Regions from separate parts of the Homo sapiens genome. Here all the other regions are linked to region 3. The links are contacts of gene promoters, found by promoter capture Hi-C in human tissues and cell types (Jung and others, 2019). All regions are on one chromosome and are shown on one strand. Each heading gives the region's core, a stretch centred on a gene start or on the middle of the fragment in contact. The rest is flanking DNA. Distances are from core to core; before and after follow the strand shown.

Evidence for each region. Contacts are between HindIII fragments. The study calls those that stand out against the background at their distance.
Region 1: a fragment that was not itself captured here is called in contact with the fragment with the promoter of CARS2 in region 3 in 10 of the 25 tissues and cell types used here (IMR-90 fibroblasts, bladder, dorsolateral prefrontal cortex and 7 more).
Region 2: a fragment that was not itself captured here is called in contact with the fragment with the promoter of CARS2 in region 3 in 7 of the 25 tissues and cell types used here (IMR-90 fibroblasts, aorta, dorsolateral prefrontal cortex and 4 more).

Annotation. Positions count from the first base shown.
Region 1 is chr13:110,814,248-110,817,104 of GRCh38, reverse strand. All of the region lies in intron 1 of LOC105370362 (a long non-coding RNA gene), which reads right to left. Among named protein-coding and RNA genes, the nearest start is that of LINC00567, 2.6 kb to the right of the region's middle. RefSeq lists an enhancer at 739-1,262. The HindIII fragment of the contact is 5,787 bases long and covers 1-2,857 here.
Region 2 is chr13:110,609,541-110,612,509 of GRCh38, reverse strand. No RefSeq gene overlaps it. Among named protein-coding and RNA genes, the nearest start is that of NAXD, 4.5 kb to the left of the region's middle. RefSeq lists enhancers at 1,196-1,696, 1,697-2,197. The HindIII fragment of the contact is 4,503 bases long and covers 1-2,969 here.
Region 3 is chr13:110,704,823-110,707,739 of GRCh38, reverse strand. It overlaps CARS2 (cysteinyl-tRNA synthetase 2, mitochondrial), which reads left to right and starts at 1,624. Exons shown (of 15, transcript NM_024537.4): 1 at 1,624-1,870; 2 at 2,169-2,219. The coding sequence starts at 1,647. RefSeq lists enhancers at 697-816, 827-1,206 and a silencer at 1,257-1,816. The HindIII fragment of the contact is 14,015 bases long and covers 1-2,917 here.

The sequences.
Region 1 (2,857 bases), core at 14-2,513, 110 kb before region 3:
TGCAGGTGTTTGTCCTTATTCTTTTTCCTTAAACAGATATGCAAATTTTATGTACTCTTTTATATGTATAATCTATTTCCAACATAAGGGGAACAATAATAAAACATTTAGTAAGAATTATGTATTATTTTTCTTTAGTGTTGATCCTTGAGGAAACATTTGCTGTACAAGAAGAGGAAGAAGAGGCTGATGAAGACTACTTTTAAGGGGATTAATTGGTATCCTTGAGGGCTTTTGGGTCTGGTGTCACTGGTTGCTATTTTTATCTTTTCCAAGCCTATGGTCTTATTTTCCTTGCTACACCTTAGTAATGACTGTGGACTTTGGGGCATGTGGTTGTGGGAAGCAGCAAGAGGGGGAGCTGCCAGCCAGGCCACTGGCAGGGACTCTCATGGGACCTGCCAAGCCTGTAAGGGCCTCCTCACAGTGCCACAGAAGCCTCGGTTCTTGTAGAGGGACCACTGCCATCAGTGTTGTCCAGCCTCAGCCCCACCTCCACCCAACTCACACCCAGCAAGCAAACTCCAATCCCACGGCAATGATCATTTGGCCCTGCGTATAGCTTTGCCTTTAAAGAAGGAGCAGGGGAGCCCCGGCCGCTTCTGTCCTGTCCAGTTGGTTACAGTTCTTGCTGTAAATTAATACTCACTTCAGATTCTTGTGAGTTCTTTTAGCAGCCATTCTTAGGTGCTTGATCAATTATTCTATATTATCTACTGACTTCCTGGGCCTACAAAATTGAAGCCAGACCCTGAAATGTGGCAATACCACCCTGTCAAGGCAAACATCACAGTGGGAACATCACAGTGGGAACAGTTGTCGCAGGTGACAACTGGCCTTCCTCCCTGCCTTTCCAAGGGGTTGTTGGAAGGAGCTGCTGCAACATTTCCATTCTGCAGATGAGAGAACTGAGGCGGCAGGGAGGTTGGGTAAATTGATCAAGGCCTTTCAAGCTGGAAGTGGCCACACAGACTGGTTTCAAAGTCAACATCAGAGTGAATGGCAGATGATGGGGCCCCTGCTGTTCGTGTACCAGGAGTGTCTGTGAATCAGAGCTTTGTGGCTTGGGGAGTGAGCCTGCCACACATTTTTGGTGAATTTGACGGTGGAAATGTTCCAGCATAGACCCATCTTGTTTTTGCATCATTCCCCCTCCTGCCTTGATTAGAAGATGCCCAGCTGGTCCAAAGGCCCCATGACCGCTGCTTCTGGGAAGCTATTTAGTCACTTCCCACAGCAATATTTGTTCCTTAAGCAAATAGAAATGTATCCATTTACACGTTTGTGACCACAGGGAAAGGCACCTGGCGCTCAGGAATAAAGCTCCACCCTCTCTTTTCACCAACAAGGACACAGAAGGGTTACGAGGCCATGAAATGCACTTGCCATTCCTTCCTTCACACTGTTCTGAAAAGCCTTCTTAACCGTAACCTACCCTACAGGCCTCTCAAAAGGAATCGATGGAAAGTCCCTTGCAGGACGTGAGATATTGACTAATGTTGCAAAAACACACCTACTTCTGAAAGAATTATCTGGTTACCAGAAGACTTTCCCTTCTGGAAATTCTCCAAGGCTGTCCGGCCCCAGGGCGGGGGTGAATCGTAAAGTACCAAGGAGCCCAAAGCCTTAGAGCACCTGGCTCAGTGGTTAAAGAAGGAAAGATGCAGATGACAGGTTTGAGGCTGGGAAAAAGAGGGAAAAATTAAAAAAAAAAAAAAAAAAACCGCAGAGGCCGGAAAGATCAGATACCTAGGAGCAGCTGACAGAAAAGAAAGCTTCAGATGTGAGCAGCAGGAGGGCAGATGCTACGGCAAGGAAGCCCCTTCTCAGACACAAAGCCCTCCACAAAACGATCCTCTAGGTGGACTTTCTTCTGCAAACATTACCCCATCCCCAATTAGAAGGATTCAGAGAATTGAATTAAGGGTTTTGAGCATATTAACACATTGAATATTTGGAAGGAAAACTAATAAAAGCTGTCTCTTACTATATTACCCATCATGGAATGGAATGCATATACACCACTGTAATAGCAGGTTCTCTAGAAGGAAACACAAACAAAAAACCAGAACCAACAGGATATGTGTATATGTATATATAGAGAGATTACTTTTAAGGAATTGGCTCAGGTGACTATGGAGGCTGGTAAATTTGAAATCTGCAGGGTGGGCCAGCAGGCTGGAGACCCCAGGAAGACCGTGTCTGCAGCCCCTGCTTGCTCAGGGAGGTCAGTCTCTGTTCCATTCAGGTCTTCAGCTGACCCGGGGAGGCCCACCTACTAGCAAGGGCCATCTGCTTTACTCAAAGTGCACGGGTTTAAATGTTCATCTCATCCAAAAACATCCTCACAGGGACATCCAGAATGAGGTTTGACTTCACGTCTGGGCCCAGCCACATGGACACATAAAATTAAGCATCGCAACCATGTAGACGCTACAGCTGTGACCGCTGTTGGTGGATTTAGTGTGCGCCAGCGTCATCTAAGCTTCATGAGGACGGGGATTTTTCTTTTTCTTCACTGCTATGTTTCCAGTGCCTAGCACTTAATAAATAAAATAAAATAAAATAATAAAATAAAAACACTGTTGACCACATGACTGTGTTGCTGTTGTTTGGGATTAGTGTGTGCGGCTGTGCATGCATTCATTTGGGAATTGGTCCCTCTGCTGGACAGACACTAAGGTGGCACCAGGGTCCCCACCTCCTAGTGTGTTCATATCTTGCTGAAATCCTCTCTCCTTGATGTGGGGGGATCTGTGACTTGCTTCTGATCCACAGAATATGGTAGAGGGATAGCACGTCTCTCCCATGATCCAGGTACATTCCCTGGCCTCCACCCACAGCTCACTTGCTCTAG
Region 2 (2,969 bases), core at 127-2,626, 95 kb after region 3:
ACTCAGCCTCCCAAGTAGCTGGAACTACAGGCGTGCACCACCACACCCGGCCAATTTTTGTATTTTTAGTAAAGACAGGGTTTCACTGTGTTGGCCAGGCTGGTCTCCAACTCCTGACCTCAAGTGATCCTCTGCCTTAGACTCCCAAAGTGCTGGCATTACAGGTGTGGCCCACCTCACCTGGACTTTGTAAATGTTTCTTATCAAACTTCAGGTGCCGGACTCTTAGTAAATTATCTCCTGGATCAAGAAAAAGACCTGGAAAAGGAAGGGGAGTCTCCTCAGAATGTAGATGTTTTTCCCCAAAGAGACAGTTTTGCAAGGCTATTTCAAAATATGCCAAATGAATATATTTGGGGTAAAATACTCCAGTTTCTTTCAGGGCTTGCAATCTGTCACATTGGTATCTTATTGCTACAAAAATTCTGCTTTGTCAGTCTTAAGGTCTCTGTTTTAACGTTAATGCTGGTCAACTGTGCCTGAATTCCAAAGGGAGGAGGGTATAATGAGGCATCCATCCCCCCTTTCCATCTCGGCCTGAACGAGTGTTTCAGGTTTACTGTAAAATGCCCTTGGCACCCTCCCCAGCCTCTGCCTCTGTCATCACATGATGGTCTCCTTGTCCTCACGTGGGATTTTCCTCTCCTTTAAGGACACCAGTCATATTGGAGTAGGGCCCACCCTAATGATCTCATCTCATCTTAATTCAATAATCTATAAAGACCTCACTTCCAGTTACGGTTATAGTCACAGGTACTAGGGGTTAGGATTTAACATATTCTGAGGAGACACAACTCAACCCATAATACCTTCTGTTAATAAATTAACCTCCCTGCTTTCCTACAGCAATAGAATGATCTTTCCTATAAGTCAGATCATGTCACTCCTCTGCATAGAACCATCCAACTGTTTTCCATGACACTCAGATTAAAATTAAGGTGCATTCCATCACTCTCCGACCCCTATGTGATTGGCGCCCCCAATCACCTACAGCTGTCGGAGGTCTCCGGAGGGTCTCTGGATGCCACTGAGACCCCAGCCCCAGCCAGTTTCCAAGTTCTTGACACCAGCATGAGAAAGAATTCAGGGACACGTCAGAATGAAACGAAAGGCAAGAAGCTTTTACTGCAAAGCGAAAGCACACACGTAAAAGAGAATTGCGGGCGTGCTCAGCAGAGTGAGTCACATCAGAGTTTGAGTTTCTAATTTTATGGATTTTTTTTTAATTAGGGGGTGGAATAATCATAAGGTATTCTGGAAAAGGAGTGATTTCAGGGACTCCCTCCCCCCATTACCACAGACTTTTACCCTTATTCAAGTTTTCCCAGGATCATGGACATATCACCCTGACCAGGATTTGACCATTTTCTCTTCCTTATTTTGGGTTTTCTGTTAACCTGCGGTTTCTTTGCCTCGTTCTTATTCTAGCTGTTGTTTGGGTTTTTCCATCCTCCTGTGACCACCCAGTGCTATTCCCATTTCATTTTCCCCCTTGGAGATTTCCATCCCTTCTTCTTTTATTTATTTTCTTTCTTTCTTTTTTTGAGACAGGGTCTCACTCTGTTACCCAGGCTGGGATGCAGTGGCATAATCATGGCTCACTGCAGCCTCCCCTTCCCAGGCTCCAGCGATCCTCAGACTTCAGCTTCCTGAGTATCTGGGACCACAGGTGTGTGCTACCACGCCCGGCTAATTTTTGTATTTTTGGTAGAGATGGGTTTTTGCCATGTTGTGCAGGGTGGTCTCAAACTCTTGAGCTCAAGCGATCTGCCTACCTTGGCCTCCCAAAGTGCTGGGATTACAGGCATGAGCCACCTACCGTGCTCAGCCATTCCATCCCTTATTCTTGAGGGAGATGAGGGAGGAGGTCAGTCTTCCGTGTCATCTTCCTGCTGATTTAAGAGCACTGGCCCTGCCTACCGAGGGCATGGGAATCTCCAGCTGCTTGATCTAAGGGTCCCCAGGGGACAGCAGGAGCGTCTGATTCCAAGACAGGAAGCAGCTGGAACCCTAGCTTGAAGATCACCTTTACCTAGATCTGCTGTAACCAGAGACAGGCACTTTACAAGCAAGTTGAATATGCATGGGCCAAATATTAACGATGAGCTCACCCTTAACGGGCCCAAAAGTGGTAAAAACCAGGTACTAGAAGGTACAGCAGCTTTAACAGCATCCCACATAAAATCAGCAGGAGGGTTTTTCTTTTCGAGGGTGCAAAGGCATTTTGCCTGGTCATTTGTGCCTGAATTCCAAGGCATGGGGGAAAGTGGAGTGAGGCGTGTCTGACCCCCAGCTTTCCATCATGGCCTGAACTAGTTTTTCAGGTTTTTTTTTTTTTTTTAATTGGATCCCCTTTGGGCAAGAGGCGTGTCCATTCTACTAGGGAGGATGCAGATTTTTTTTAGTTTATAGTCCGCTTTTTGTAAAGGTATGCCAGAGGCAGTGTCAATGGCCAAGCTTTTATTTTGTCCCATATTGATGCCGGGGGGGGGGGGGGGGGGGGGGGGTGCTACCTGTGCCAGGTCTATCATGTCCCTCAGTGGGACCCCTACGGCTAAGGGACTTAGAGTCAAAAGACTTATAACCAATTAATTATTCTAAGCCAAATGGAATGGAAGTGCGCAGGCACTCATTAACCTTCGAATCTCTTTTAAGCAACATAAGAACCAAAAACCAAAAGCCAAAAGACAAGGTAACATAATTGACTTATTTATAAATTATGTGCATTGAGCCACCATAATCTGGTTTGTAGCAATTAGCTATACAAAACACAAGCATTTTGTTAAGCTGCTGAGGCATCTCTGTGACCATTAATGACTGAATCCATTAATTCAGTTGGAGGATCTGAATTAATTTTATTCCTCAGAATTGGCCCTTACAATCTTATGCTGGGCCTGGAGGGATTGTATAGTTCAAATTCTGGAGGCACAACAAACGCAAGGAGCTAAAAACATTTTAAACAAAAAGGT
Region 3 (2,917 bases), core at 375-2,874:
CCTGTTTTGAGAACTGGAAAAGCAAAGGGGACTTTTTCTTTTTTTTGAGACATCGTATTGCAAGACACCAATAGAGGCACTTTTTTTTTTTTTCAGGCGGAGTCTCCCTCTGTTGCCCAGGCTGCAGTGCAGTGGTGTGACCTCAGCTCACTGTGAGCTCTGCCTCCTGGGTTCAAGCGATTCTCTTGTCTCAGCCTCCCCAGTAGCTGGGACTACAGATGCACGCCACCACGCCCGGCTAATTTGTGTATTTTTAGTAGAGACGGGGTTTCACCATATTGGTCAGGCTGGTCTCGAACTCCTGACCTCAGGTGATCCATCCGCCTCAGCCTCCCAAAGTGCTGGGATTACAGGTGTGAGCCACTGCGCCTGGCCCAATAGAGGCACGTTTGTCAAGCTATTGTGAGTAACTTTCAGAATGTTTTTGTTCTCAAGATACGGGATCATGGTGGGGGAGGCATGCTGTGTATTGGAGTGCAGACATGGTGTGTGTTGGGTTGCACACTGTGTATTGGGGTGCACACTGTATTGGGGTGTAGATGTGTGGGGGCGCACACTCTATTGAGGTGCACATTGCATTGGAATGCAGACAGTGTTTGCTGGGATGCACATGTGCTGTGTTGGGGTGCACACTGTACTGGGGTGCAGACATGGTGTGTGTTAGAGTGCACAGTGTATTAGGGGTGCACACTGTATTGGGGTGTACACTGTACTGGGGTGCAGACATGGTGTGTGCTGGGGTGCACACTGTATTGGAGTGCACACTGTATTGGGATGCTGATGTGGTGTGTGCTAGGGTGCATACTGTGTATTGGGGTGCAGACTGTATGCTGGGTTGCACACTGTGTATCGGGGTGCACTGTGTTGGGATGCTGATGGTGTGCTGCAGTGCACACTATTGGGGTGCAGATGTGTGTGCTGGGGTGCACACTGTATTGGGGTGCACACTGTATTGGGATGCTGATGTGTGTGCTGGGGTGCATACTGTGTATTGGGGTGCACACTTCTTGGGGTGCAGACTGTGTGTTGGGTTGCACATTGTGTATCGGGGTGCACTGTGTTGGGATGCTAACGGTGTGCTGCAGTGCACACTGTATTGGGGCGCAGATGTGTGTTTGGGGTGCACACTGTATTGGGGTGCACACTGTATTGGGGTGCTGACGTGTGTTCTGGGGTGGACACTGTGTATTAGCGTGCTGACGTGGGCTGTGCTGGGATGCACACGTGCTTCGCTAACAGGCCAGGGCCCGGCAACAGAAGCTTGCACTGTAAACGCTCCTCCCGCGCGGCGGACACAGCTCCAGGCTGGTACCGCGCGCACACGGACGCCTCGCAGGACCTGGGCTAATAAGGAGAGGAGATCGGCACGGTACCGCCTCTTCCCACGGCCTCCCGGCGCGGCACCGCCCTCCTCCCTCCACCCCGGGCCTTCCCCGCCCCAACCTCTTCGGGCCCTGGTTCTCCACCCTTGCCGCGGGCGACTCGAGCCAGGCCAAAGGGAGGCGCTACCTGAGGACTGCTTCCGGGAGTGGGCGTGGCCCCAAGGGCGTGGGCGGGGCGGGGCGGGGCCGTGCTGCTCTTGAGCGACCGGCAGCGTACCCGGCGTGGCTCCCGTCTCCGCCCAGTCGTAGGCGCTGGCCGCTGACATGTTGAGGACTACGCGCGGCCCAGGCCTGGGCCCCCCGCTGCTCCAGGCCGCGCTGGGCCTTGGGCGGGCTGGGTGGCACTGGCCTGCGGGCCGGGCGGCGAGCGGGGGGCGCGGGCGGGCCTGGCTGCAGCCCACGGGCCGGGAGACGGGTGTGCAGGTGTACAACAGCCTCACCGGGAGGAAGGAACCCCTAATCGTGGCGCACGCCGAAGCCGCCTCCTGGTGGGCCGCGCGGGACTGGGGCACGGGCGGGGGCCGATCGTGGCGGAGACTTCCCACGGCTGAACGGGATCTGGGCTCGGGGAGGGCGTTTAGGAAGCTGCATGGAGGGCGCCGTTCTAGAAGCTGGGGGTGCGCGGTGCTTTTGCAGGTTTGGGTGTGAATTGAGCAAGTATGAAAACCCCGGCTATTCATCCCCCAGAAGTGATTACTTTAAAAATTATATGATCATTATAACTCAGAATCGAATGTCCTTTCTTGCAAATATGTTCCACACGATGGATTTTAACTTTGTTTCCAGGTATAGCTGTGGACCAACTGTATATGATCATGCGCACCTTGGCCATGCTTGGTGAGTTTCCTGGATTTGAATTTTCATACTTCAAAGGACCATTTATTTTTGAAAGCCTTTTGCTGATTTCTTTTATCTCTTAAGTGGCAACTTAGGGATGCAGAATAATTCCTACATTCCAGGCATTGTGGGAAATGTTACAACCTCATTTGGTTCTTATAGGGATTCTGAGCACTTACACCCGTTTTACAGGTGAGGAAACTCAGGGAGACAATGGAGCACTGAAAAATGACCCGTTTTGGAACTAGATGTTTTTTGCTGGGTTTAGTGACATCAAGAGGCCTTTGCGGGGTCCCGGGGTCCTGCTGATCAGTCATTCCTGGGCCCCACCACTTCTTAGCTTCACAGCACTGAGCAGGTCACTTTATTGCTTTGAGTCCTGGTTTCTTCATCTTTGAGATGGGAATGATAACTTGGATCTTATAACAATTTTAGTAAATAATGCCCATAAAATGCTGCTTAACACTGTACCTCACATGTGAGATGTCACGGGGCTCAATAGTGATTGAGTAACTTTCCTAAGATGACACATTGAAGAGGTATTGGAACTGGGGTGAGGCTTGGTTTCTCTGACTGCGAAGTGGTTGCTCTCTTGACCTCTTTAACTGTAAGATGTACTGCCTCCTACATTTGCCAAAATTACCACTTTTCCTAATATTTTGTACATTTCCAAAATATAATGTACAAAAATGACATAT